Linked DNA regions of Homo sapiens: region 2 is linked to region 1. Evidence: promoter capture Hi-C in 16 types of primary human blood cells and fetal thymus (Javierre and others, 2016). All regions are on one chromosome and are shown on one strand. Each heading gives the region's core, a stretch centred on a gene start or on the middle of the fragment in contact. The rest is flanking DNA. Distances are from core to core; before and after follow the strand shown.

Region 1 (5,746 bases), core at 2,504-5,003:
GTTCCTCCTATCTAGATATAATTTAAAGTGTGTCTCTTTTAAGAAGCATAAACATGTCATATTTATGTAGTCTGATAATCTTTGACTTTTAATTGGAGTGTTTATTCTGCTTAAATTTACTATAATTCTTAATATAGTTGTATCTAAGTCTACTATCTGCTATTATATTTGTCCTATCTTTTGAAAAATAAACTTTTAAATTTGGAATAATTTTAGACTCACAAAAAATTTGTGTGGGCACAGAGAGTTTCTATATCTGACCTTTAGCTCAGTGTCCCGTAATGTTGACATCTTACATACTTGTAGTATATTTGACAAAACTAAGAAATTAACATTGGTACATTGCTGTTAACTAAACTCTTGTCTTTATTCAGATTTCATCAATTTTCCAATAATGTCCTTTTTTCTATTCCAGGATCCAATTCAACATACCACATTGTATTTAGTCCCCATATCACTTTTGTCTCCTTTAATCTGTGACAATTTATTGATTTTGTCTTGTTTTTCATGACCTTGACAGGTTGAAGAGTACTTATGAGGAGTTTTGTAAAACGTCCATCAGTTTTACCACCATAAAAATCAGTTCAGATTTTTATGATGTCCTTGTTGTGATTATACAAAGGTTATGCATTTTCTGGAAGAATATAAATGGAGTGGAAGTGTCCTTCCATCACATTATATGAGGGGGTGCGTAATATTCACATGCCATAATTGGTGACAGTAACCTTGATCACTTGGTTAAGATTGTCTGCCAAATTTCTCCACTGTAATTTTTTTTTCCTTTTTCTTAGTCTTTTCTTTGGAAGCCAGTCACTAAGTCTAGCTACACGCACCTGGAGAGGGGAATTAAGCTTCACCTTCGGGAAGGAGGAGACTATACTCATATTATCAGCAATTCTTCTGTAAAGATGTGTCTCTTCTGCCTTTGATCCATGTGTTGGTTTATTCCTCCATTTCTGTCTTCTTTTGTATTAGTCGGGTATTTTCTATTACACTATTTTATGTCCTTTTTAGATTAAGTCCAAAATTTTGCATTTTCCTTTTAGTTGTTGCCCTACAAATTACAACATTTGTTCTTGCTACAATTTTTTTCTTAATACTTTCTCTAACAATTGAAGAGATATGTTATAGTCTAAACCCACTTATCTCCCAACCTGTCTTTTGTGCTATTTTTGTCATATATTTTACATTACAGTATCTCAATAGGTCATTTTTTTTAATATCACAATTCTTTTTAGTTCTAAGGCAGAATCAACTTTTCTACCTTTTGCTCCCAACCTTGTTAAACGGGAAAGAATTGCATAAGTATTTGAGAAACCGTTTACCAAAAGCATCTAGCAGATCTAGCAGACGCCCATGTTAAAATATCAATAACATTCAAAAATTTGTAAAGAACTAGTTTTGAATAACAAATTGGTCAATGTGAAAAACAGCTAAATGTTATACAAAATTAGAATTATCAAAGTGGTTGGGGGGTAGTATGTACTTTCTAAAAGCATCGGATAGTCCGTTTTGAATAAGAGAAATATAAGGGAAGTGACAGCTAGAAGCAGGCACAGATTTAGATAGAACCTGCAGCCTAACTGTATAACACCTTGGGTGCCTGGGAAGAACTAAAAGTCAAGAAGAATTTTTTGAAAAACCACATAAGCCTTTTTTTTCATAAAACTTTTATTATCATGTCATTTGTACAAATGTAACAGTAATGATAAATTCTCTTTTCCAAGGGAAAGAGAAACGCTGCAGAATGGACATTAAACAAGGCATTATGCCCTACAAGCAAGACATAAAATGTCTAAGGGAAACTTCAGCATAAAAATGTTGAACACATAATGTGAGATAATTTGAATAAATAACAACTGACATTCTTTTTTTAAAAAAAAAGTATAAAAAATAGATGTGTACATACATTCCCTTACCCTAACAGTGATCCACTAATTGCTTGCATTTCAATCCCCCCACCCTCCAGTTCCCCACCCTGTCATTTATCAAGGTGGCTGACACATTATGGTCTCCCACTAAATATTAGTTTAATGACACATTTAAAACCCATCATATTCCAATTAAATAATCAGGACTGAGCTATGTTTGATGAAACACACTCACATCTTTAAATAACAGCATGTAAAATATTAAAATACAAGCTTTCAAAAATAAATACATAAATAAGTAGAACCCTCGTAAGAAATAGTCAAACACATTAAGTCCTTTCCAGCTGTCCCTAGAAAGCTGCTGTTCTCTTTTTCATTTTCAGCTCTGGTAAGGGCAGGGACCACCCTGCAGGAAGTGTCAATGATACGCTGATAAGCTTCTTACTTCTCTCCTGTCAGTTGGTGCTCCCCCTGTGATGAGAAAAGGGTTACTGTTGCAGGTGCTAAGGAAGGCTGCTCTTCTGTCACTCTGAAGTTGCTTGGAGGGATGTCCCCATGCAGACTCTCTCCCAGCCCTCCACTCAGGGAAGGTCTGTCTGTACCCACTGCCTTCTATAGCAGAAAACTTGCACTCCTGAATGCTTTTTTTTTTTTTTTCAAGAAAGAAGTGGCTGTGGACTCAACTAGATTCTTGGTTTGAAAAAGCCAAAACATATTGGTCACTGATTGTCACATTGGGTTAGAAATGTCCATTCATGATCTCCCTTAAGCTGCACACAACCCTATGAAATAACTACCATTATCTACCCTATTTTGCTAAAGCTCAAAGAGATTAAATAACGTTGACAGGGATCCTAGCCTTGAACTCACTGAAGGTGTTACTGCAAAGTTTCTGCTCTTCACCAAGAAGGCTTACAGGCCCAAAGTGCCCAAACCAGACATTGCATTTTTCAGGTCTGAAGCCCATTAGGGACTGAGGTAAACGTCCCAAAACAGGCAGGGGGCATTTTGGCATTGTTAGTCAAATTTACTTAGTATTCTAGAAACCCACATTTACCCTCCCAGGGGTTAGGCCTGGAAATGGAAGACACTGAAATACTGAAATATCCTCTGGCACCAGAGCAGATTAATAACCTTAATGGCAACTTTAATTGTGAAAATAATAATCACAATTTCTAGTCCTTCAGCTAACTCTTGGGGTTCCCTGATTTTATTTTTAGGGGGCAGATGCCAGTATTTCTGACCAACGGCTCCAGTCGCCTGTGTATATGGAAATTACAACTCACTTGTTCAGTATCTTTTCGATGATTTTCTGAACCATGGGGGATGCGGGGTTGAGACAAGCTTTCTTCCCATTCTTGAGTGTGGCTCTGCAGAGAGAAGGGAATTCCGTGAGACAGGAGGTCGGGCTGGGGACAGGGTTGGGGCAGCGGGAGAGTCGGGGACCCCAGCGGTGGCAGCGGAAGCGCGGGGCGGGACTTACATGACTTCGGTTTGGGCGCAGTGGGGTCCGGGGGACCTTACATTCACACTTTGGATGTTCTTGAGGTGAATTCCCTGCAGTGTCTGCAAGCACTGGCAGCGCAGTTCAGTGACCACGGACGCTCCTAGGGAAGAATAGACTCGCTGATTGAGCGGGGCTGTCGGCGCGGGGCGCCCACCCCAGCCGCGTCCGGCCCGGGGACCCCAGGGCGCCGGGACCCACCTGCTGCGCGCCGGCTGGCGGCCACCAGGAGCAGGAGCAGCAGCGCCACCCGCAGGAGCCGGGGATTGCTGGGGGCGGCGGAGAGCGTGGCGTGGGCCATGGGGCTCAGCAGACGCGTCGGGAAGCTGTGCGAGAAGCGGGAGAGCTGGCGGGGAGGTGCCTGCGACCCGGGCTGTGTGGCTCCCCAAGATCGGCGAACCCTTTTTATGCATGGTTGAGACTGGAAAGCCCGGAGCGGCCGGGCCAGGGAAATTCCCGGAGCTCCAGATCGATCCGGAGTCCCGAAGGAAGGCGACGGCCCCGCCCCCGGGGTGGAGTCGGATACGGGTAGGGGGAGCCCACTGGTGACGCCTACGCCTCGCCCTCCAGAGTAACCCCCGTGCACTCTGGGACTTTGGGATATTCATTTTCTGCCCCAAATTCCTGGAGAGGCAGTGAGTCCACCTCGCTGAAGATACAGCCTGTGAGGGGGGACCTTAGGTCCCCGATGACCCCCCGCGTACGGGGTAGGGTTGGAGGAAAGAGCTGGGGGGACCCGTGAGAACCAGGACAGGAAAGGCACGACTTCTTTAGAGGAAGAGAGCTTTGTCTCCTTAGTTATCAGATTTGCTGGGGACCCGGAGACAGGCGAGTTTTCCCTCAGCTATCCTCTCTCTATATAGTCTATCCTCTATGTTAACCTCCCGGTCTCTGCCTCTCTCATTTTCGGTTTAGCGTTATTTCATGTACATCTAACATCATGCTCTCTGTGAAAGTACAGCCATCGTCTCGGATTCCAGAGAAGAATGTTCTACTTGTTCCTTGTTTTGCATATTCTCTAATCACACTTAGAATACCTTGTTTACGTTTTCCATTTGGTGGCAACAGATTATCAGTGTCAAAATTTGAATTCAGTGTTAGTGTCCGTGGAAGCCAGGGCTGTATAACATGACCTCTTCTTTTGTATCCTGCATAACGTCCTTCCTCCCTCTGAAATGTTGGAACTTCCTAAATCCCCTGGAGACCTTCTCCCAGTGGGAGGGATTCAGATTTGATCTAGAAATATGACACTGGCTGTCACTCTGAAGCTGTGGAGGGGCTGGGTCCAGCAGGATCATGGGCTCAATGTTTCTGGTTCTGTCTTTGCGAATGACACTAGAGAGTAGGTACCTGGTGTGCAAACACCATTCCCACTGAAGGAGCAAACAGCTGCCTGCTGATGACATTTAAACACCAGATCACACATAAAATCACATTTCATTTACTATAGAATTTTCTGGTATTCAGCACTGGGGGATCTTTCTCTGGAAACATTAACAGGGCACTTTTTTTTCTCGTCTGGATTTTCAGTCTTTTAACCTGACACCTTTGTCCCTTTTTCTAGTTTTAGATAATGTATTTTGATTTGTCATTAGGTTTTAGAGGGTTTAAGTGTGATTCTACAAGTTGGTCTCAGACCTCTTTGAGACGTGGAGTAGGATGGAGGAGAGGAGAAAGGAATGGCATCTGCCTGAAGCACAGGGCTCTACACAACCCAGCTCAAGGGATAAGAGTCCTTGCCCCTAACCAAACACAGAGCGTGCAACTGTGCTGCCTGTATTTAGTTGCAGAGTATCACTTGCAAGTTGTTAAGCCTCTCTGTGCCTAGCCCAAGGTGGTTATGAGAAATGAGTTAACATTTGTAAGAGACAACATGGATTAAGTGCCTTATTAATGGTTGTTAAATAAATAAAATGGACTATTTCCATTTTTAAAAGGCTATTTCTTTCCCGACATTGCCTGAACAAAAACTCAGCCTGCTATGAATTCTGTAAAGGAAAAAAGAAGAATCTAATGGAAAGTTTTACTCCCCAGTGTTTTTCACATTTAAAATTTTCTGTATCCCTTACTGCCACCCAACTCTCCCTGTCTCTAACTGATATAAAGCAGTGTGAGTCCTTAAGAAATCAAAGCACATCCTAGAAAGAAGAATGTTCATATAAACACCACAATCCCAGTTTCCAAAATGGTCTTGTAGTTACTGGTGCTCACGGGTATCTGTGATGTCATTACAATAATCTTGGACAAGGGATAGAAAGGTGTGCTAGAATGTCCTGTTACTTTAAAATAGACACTATAGGTAATATATATGCTCCATTCTTTTTCAATAATTTCCTCTCTCACATCTCCCTGACTACTTAAATTCCTTGAA
Region 2 (5,815 bases), core at 1,069-3,568, 94 kb after region 1:
TATATATTCAGAAAACCCCATCATATCAGCCCAAAATCTCCTTAAGCTTTATCAGCAACTTCAGCAAAGTCTCAGGATACAAAATCAATGTGCGAAAATCACAAGCATTCCTATACACCAATAATAGACAAACAGAGAACTAAATCCTGAGTGAACTCCCATTCACAATTGCTACAAAAAGAATAAAATACCTAGGAATACAACTTACAAGGGATGTGAAGGACCCTTCAAGAAGAACTACAAACCGCTGCTCAAGGAAATGAGAGGACACAAACAAATGGAAAAACATTCTATGCTCATTGATAGGAAGAATCAATATTGTGAAAAAGGCCATACTGCCCAAAGTAATTTATAGATTCAATGCTATCCCATCAAGCTACCATTGACTTTCTTCACAGAATTAGAAAAAGCTACTTTAAATTTCATGTGGAAACAAAAAAGAGCCCATATAGCCCAGACAATCCTAAACAAACAGAAAAATGCTGCAAGCATCATGCTACCTGACTTCAAACTATATTACAAGTCCACAGTAATCAAAACAGCATGGTACTGGTAACAAAATAGATATACAGACCAATGGAACAGAACATAGGCCTCAGAAATAACACCACTCATCTACAACCATCTGATCTTTGACAAACGATAAAAATAAGCAATAGGGAAAGGATTCCTTATTTAATAAGTGGTGTTAGGAAAACTGGCTAGCCATATGCAGAAAACTGAAACTGGACCCCTTCCTCACACCTTAAACAAAAATTAACTCAAGATGGATTAAATACTTAAACATAAGGCCTAAAGCTATAAATGCCCAAGAAGAAAACCTAGGCAGTACCATTCAGGACACAGGCATGGGCAAAGTCTTCATGACTAAAACACCAAAAGCAATGGCAGCAAAAGCCAAAATTGACAAATGGGATCTAATTAACCTAAGGAGCTTCTGCACAGCAAAAGAAACTATCATCAGAGTGAACAGGCAACCTATAGAATGAGAGAAAAATTTTGCAATCTATCCATCTGACAAAGGGCTAATATCCAGGATCTACAAAGAACTTAAACAAATTTACAAGAAAAACAAACAAACATGCCCATCAAAAAGTGGGTGAAGGATGTGAACAGACACTTCTTAAAAGAAGACATTTATGCGGCCAAAAAAACATATATAAAAAGAAAGCTCATTATCACTGGTCATTAGAGAAATGCAAATCAAAACCACAATGAGATACCATCTCACACTAGTTAGAATGGCAATCATTAAAAAGTCAGGAAACAACAGATACTGAAGAGGAAGTGGAGAAATAGGGATGCTTTTATATTGTTGGTGGGAGAATAAATTAGTTCAGCCATTATGGAAGACAATGTAGCGATTCCTCAAGGATCTAGAACCAGAAATACCATTTGACCAGCAATCTCATTACTGGATATATACCCAAAGGATTATAAATCATTCTACTATAATCACACATGCACAGGTATGTTTCTTGCAGCACTATAGCAATAGCAAAGATGTCAAACCAACCCAAATACCCATCAATGATAGATTGGATAAAGAAAATGTGGCACATATACACCATGGAATACTATGCAGCCATAAAAAAGGATGAGTTCACATCCTTTGCAGAGACATGGGTGAAGCTAGAAACCATCATTCTCAGCAAACTAACACAAGAACAGAAAACCAAACACCACATGTTCTCACTCATAAGTGGGAGTTGAACAATGAGAACACATGGACACAGGGAGGGGAACATCACACACCAGGGCCTGTCAGAGGGTGGGGCGCTAAGGGAGGGACACCATTAGGAGAAGTACCTAATGTAGATGACGGGTTGATGGGTGCAGCAAACCACCATAGCACATGTATACCTATGTAACAAACCTGCACATTCTGCACATGTATCTCAGAACTTAAAGTATAATAATAATGAAAAAAATGCTCTACACTTTAACTCCACACCTCCCACAAACACTTTGAATTTTTATTATATCAGTTCGCATATTTTAAAAATATCTATTTTGAACAGGTTGTTGTCGCTATTATTGTTTTTGATAGATTTGTCTTTATAAGCTTCTTACTAGAGTTATGATTGGATTGCACACCACAATTAAATTATTAGCATATTCTGGGGTTGTGTTCATACTTAATTTTACCAGTGGGTTTTATACCTTGAAATATTTTCTTTTAGTTAGTACACTAATATGTTAGCATTTTTTAATTTCAGGTTGAAGAATTCCCTTTAGCATTTCTTGCAAGACGGGTCTAGTAGTGGTGAATTCTCTTAGCTTTTGTCTGTGAAAGACAATTTCTCTTTGTTAATGCTGCCCTATTTCCTTCTGGCCTACATGGTTTCCATTGTGAAGTCTGTTGCCAGATGAACTGGAGTTGCTTTGTTATTTTACTCTTTTGCTGCTTTCTGGATCTTCTCTTTGTCTTTGATATTTGAAAGTTCAATTATTATATGCCTTGGTTAGTGTTACTTGGGTTGAATCTGTTTGGTGTTCCCTGACCTTTCTATATCTAGATATTTCTGTCTTTCATGAGTTTTGGAAAGTGCTCTGTTATTATTTCTTAGGATAAGCTTTTCTCCCCTTGCTCTTGCTCAGCTCCCCCTTAAACACCAATAATTTTTAGATTTGGTCTTTTGAGGTAATTTTCTATATTTTAAAGGTGGCCTTCATTTCTTTTTATTGTTTTTTTCTTTTCTTTCTTTGGACTGTATTTTCTTAATAGCCAGTCTTTGAGCTCACTGATTCTTTTCTCTAACCCATTCTGTTATTGAGATCCTCTAAAGAGTGTTTCAATTCAGCAAATGTGGTTCTCCGTTCCAAGATTTCTGTTTCATTTTTAAATTATTATTTCAATTTTCTTGTTAAATTTCTCTGATAAGTATCTGAATTGTTTTTCTATGTTATCTTGTAGGTCACTGAGTTTCCTTAAAATTGCTATTTTGAATTCTTAGTTATAAAGTTCACATATCGGTTTTCTAATCCCAAAATGGCAGCATAGAAGCAAGCTTGCTTCTCTCCCCTCCACCAGAAACCAAAAAGAAATACACAGCAGCAAGATCTTCACCAGCAGCAACCCAGAGATCCTGTATGAGGATGAGACAGTTCCTGTAGGTACAGAGAAGTGGAAACATTCTGAGCAGATGGTAGGAGAACCAGATTCTACATCCATGAGGCCTCTTCCCTGCATTACACCAGGCATCAGCAGTATGAAAAATCTGCCCTCAACTCATGGTTTCTGCACTGAAAAACGTGAAATTGAGATTGTCAACCAGCTTTCCCATCTTCTTCGGTTTCCTGCCAGGAGACCTGCCTTTGCCTTAAACCACAGGTAGCACTGTGACTGCCTGGAGGGAGAAATGTCTGTGAAGGCTGGCAAAGACAAATAGGGAAGCCAGGACTACCATCCTCAGCCGTAAAAACTCCTTGTAACTTGACCAAAGGAGATGCCAAATCAGTAGAAATCATGTAGCAAGTATGTTCCACAAGTCCCCTGGGAACACACCCGTGGCCGGCCTTCCCACAGTGCTAGGGTAATCCCTTTGGTCCTCCTCCTTATGGGACAGGCAGTGCCATGGCCATTTGCAAAAGTCAAGGTAAACATAGGCTTATGGCGCCATCTAGAGCCGAAAACAAGGCAGCAAGCTGGCAGTTAAGATTCATAAGCAACTGTATTCAATAAAAACCAAACCAAACTAGACAGATAAAGCTGGACTAAATAATTATTAATACAAATACATAGATGTATACCCACAAGAAACAACAGCAAACATGGAACCATAACCTTCTAGACAAAGCAAAGTTCCAGCGACTGACCCTCCTGAGATGGCGATTTGTGAACTCTCTGACCAAGAATTCAAAACAGCTGTTTTAAGGAAACTTTGTTATCTCTAAGATAACACAGAAAAGCAACTCAGATATTTATCAGAGAAATTTAACAAGGAAATTGAAATAATGATAAGCAGAAATCTTGTAACTAAGAACTACATTTGCTGAACTAAGAAACTCTTCAGGGGATCTCAACCACAGAATAGGTCAAGCAGAGAAGAGAATCAATGAGCTCAAAGACTGGCTGTTAAAAAATAAACAGAGGAGAGAAAAGAAAAAAAGAATGAAAATGAGAGAAGGCCACTTACAAGATATAGAAAATTACCTCAAAGACAAAATCTAAAAATTATTGATGTTCAAGAGAGAGCAGAGCAGGAGCAAGGGTAGAAAGCTTATTCAAAGAAATAATAAGAGAATACTTTCCAAAACATGAGAAAGATATAAATATTCAGGTACAGGAAGGCCTTAGAGCATCACATTAGTCAAATAAGACTAATGAAGGTATTTACTAATCAAACTGTCAAAGATCAAGCATAAAGATAAAACTGTAATGGCAGCAAGAGAAAAGAAGCAAGCAGCATATAAAGGAGCTCCAAATCATCTTTAGCCAGAATAAGAAAAAAAGAGAGAAGACCCAAATAAATAAAAGTAGGAACAAAAATGGACACATGACAACTGAGACCTCAGAAATACTAAGAATCATTAGAAACAATTAGGAACCATTACATGCCAACAAATTGGAAAATATAGAAGAAATGGATAAATTCCTGGACACATGCAACCTACCAATATTGAACCATCAACAAATAGAAAACCTCAATAAGCCAATAATGAGTTATGAAATCAAAGCCATAATAAAAAGTCTCCCATCAAAGAAAAGCTCACGGCCTGATAACTTCACTGCTAAGTTCTACCAAACATTTAAAGAACTAATACCAATTCTATTCAAATACTTCAAAACGATTAAAGAGGAGAGAGGGAATACTTTCAAACTCATTCTACAAGGCCAGTGTTACTGTGATACCAAAACCAGACAAGGACACATTTTTTTTTTAAAGAAGCTAGAGGCCAATATCACCAGTGAACACAGATGTAAAAATCTTCAGCAAAATACTCATTTACCATTGTCAAGTAGAATTCATTCCAGAGATACAGGATGGTTCAACATATGCAAATCAATACATGTTATACACGACATTAACAGAATCGAGAATGAGAATCATATAATTATTTCAATAGATGCCATAAAGGTAAAGGCATTTGATAAAATTCAACATTCCTTTATGATAAAAATCCTCAACAAACTGGGCATAGAAGAAACATACCTGAAAATAATAAAAGCCATCTATGACAAACCCATAGCTAACAACACACTTAACAAGGAAAAATTGAAGGCCTTTCCTCTAAAGGCTAGACCAAGATAAGAATGCCCACTTTCACTATTATTTTGCTGTTATTCAATATAATACTGGAAGTCCTGGCCAGAGCAATTAGGTAAGAAAAAGAAATGAAGGAAAACCAAATTGGAAAGGTAGAAGTCAAATTAGCTTTGTTCATCTTATATGCAGAAAAACCTAAAGACTCTACCAAAAAAAACTGTTATAACTCATACAGGAATTTAGTAAAGTTGTAGGATACAAAATCAATGTACAAAAATTAGTAGTGTTTCTACACACCAAGACTGATCTAGCCAAAAATGAAGTCAAGAAGGCAATCTCATTTAAAACTACAAAGAATATGCAATACCTGGGAATCAATTGAAACCAAAGATGTGAAAGACCTACACAAGAAAAACTATAAAACTCTGGTGAAAGAAATAGAAGAAAGCACCAAAAAATTGGAAAAATATTCTCCGCTCATGGATTGGAAGACTTAATATTGTTAATATGACAATACTACCCCAAACAATTTCCAGACTCACTGCAATCCCCATCAAAATTCCAATGACATTCTTCACAGAAATGTTTTAAAAATCTGAAATTCA

Evidence for each region. Contacts are between HindIII fragments. The CHiCAGO score rates a contact against its expected background, and 5 or more counts as called.
Region 2: a contact is called between a fragment that was not itself captured here and the fragment with the promoter of CXCL3 in region 1, in 1 of 17 cell types (megakaryocytes). The highest score is 8.1, in megakaryocytes.

What each region holds. Positions count from the first base shown.
Region 1 is chr4:74,034,936-74,040,681 of GRCh38, forward strand. CXCL3 (C-X-C motif chemokine ligand 3) reads right to left here and starts at 3,754. Exons shown (of 4, transcript NM_002090.3): 1 at 3,577-3,754; 2 at 3,355-3,478; 3 at 3,158-3,241; 4 at 1,654-2,342. The coding sequence starts at 3,676. The coding sequence ends at 2,327. It overlaps LOC105377275 (a long non-coding RNA gene), which reads left to right and starts at 4,010. Exons shown (of 2, transcript XR_938875.3): 1 at 4,010-5,746. The HindIII fragment of the contact is 4,426 bases long and covers 3,214-5,746 here.
Region 2 is chr4:74,130,821-74,136,635 of GRCh38, forward strand. The region is part of intron 1 of LOC105377277 (a long non-coding RNA gene); the gene reads right to left. It also overlaps a transcript of MTHFD2L not described here. Among named protein-coding and RNA genes, the nearest start is that of MTHFD2L, 24 kb to the right of the region's middle. The HindIII fragment of the contact is 511 bases long and covers 2,064-2,574 here.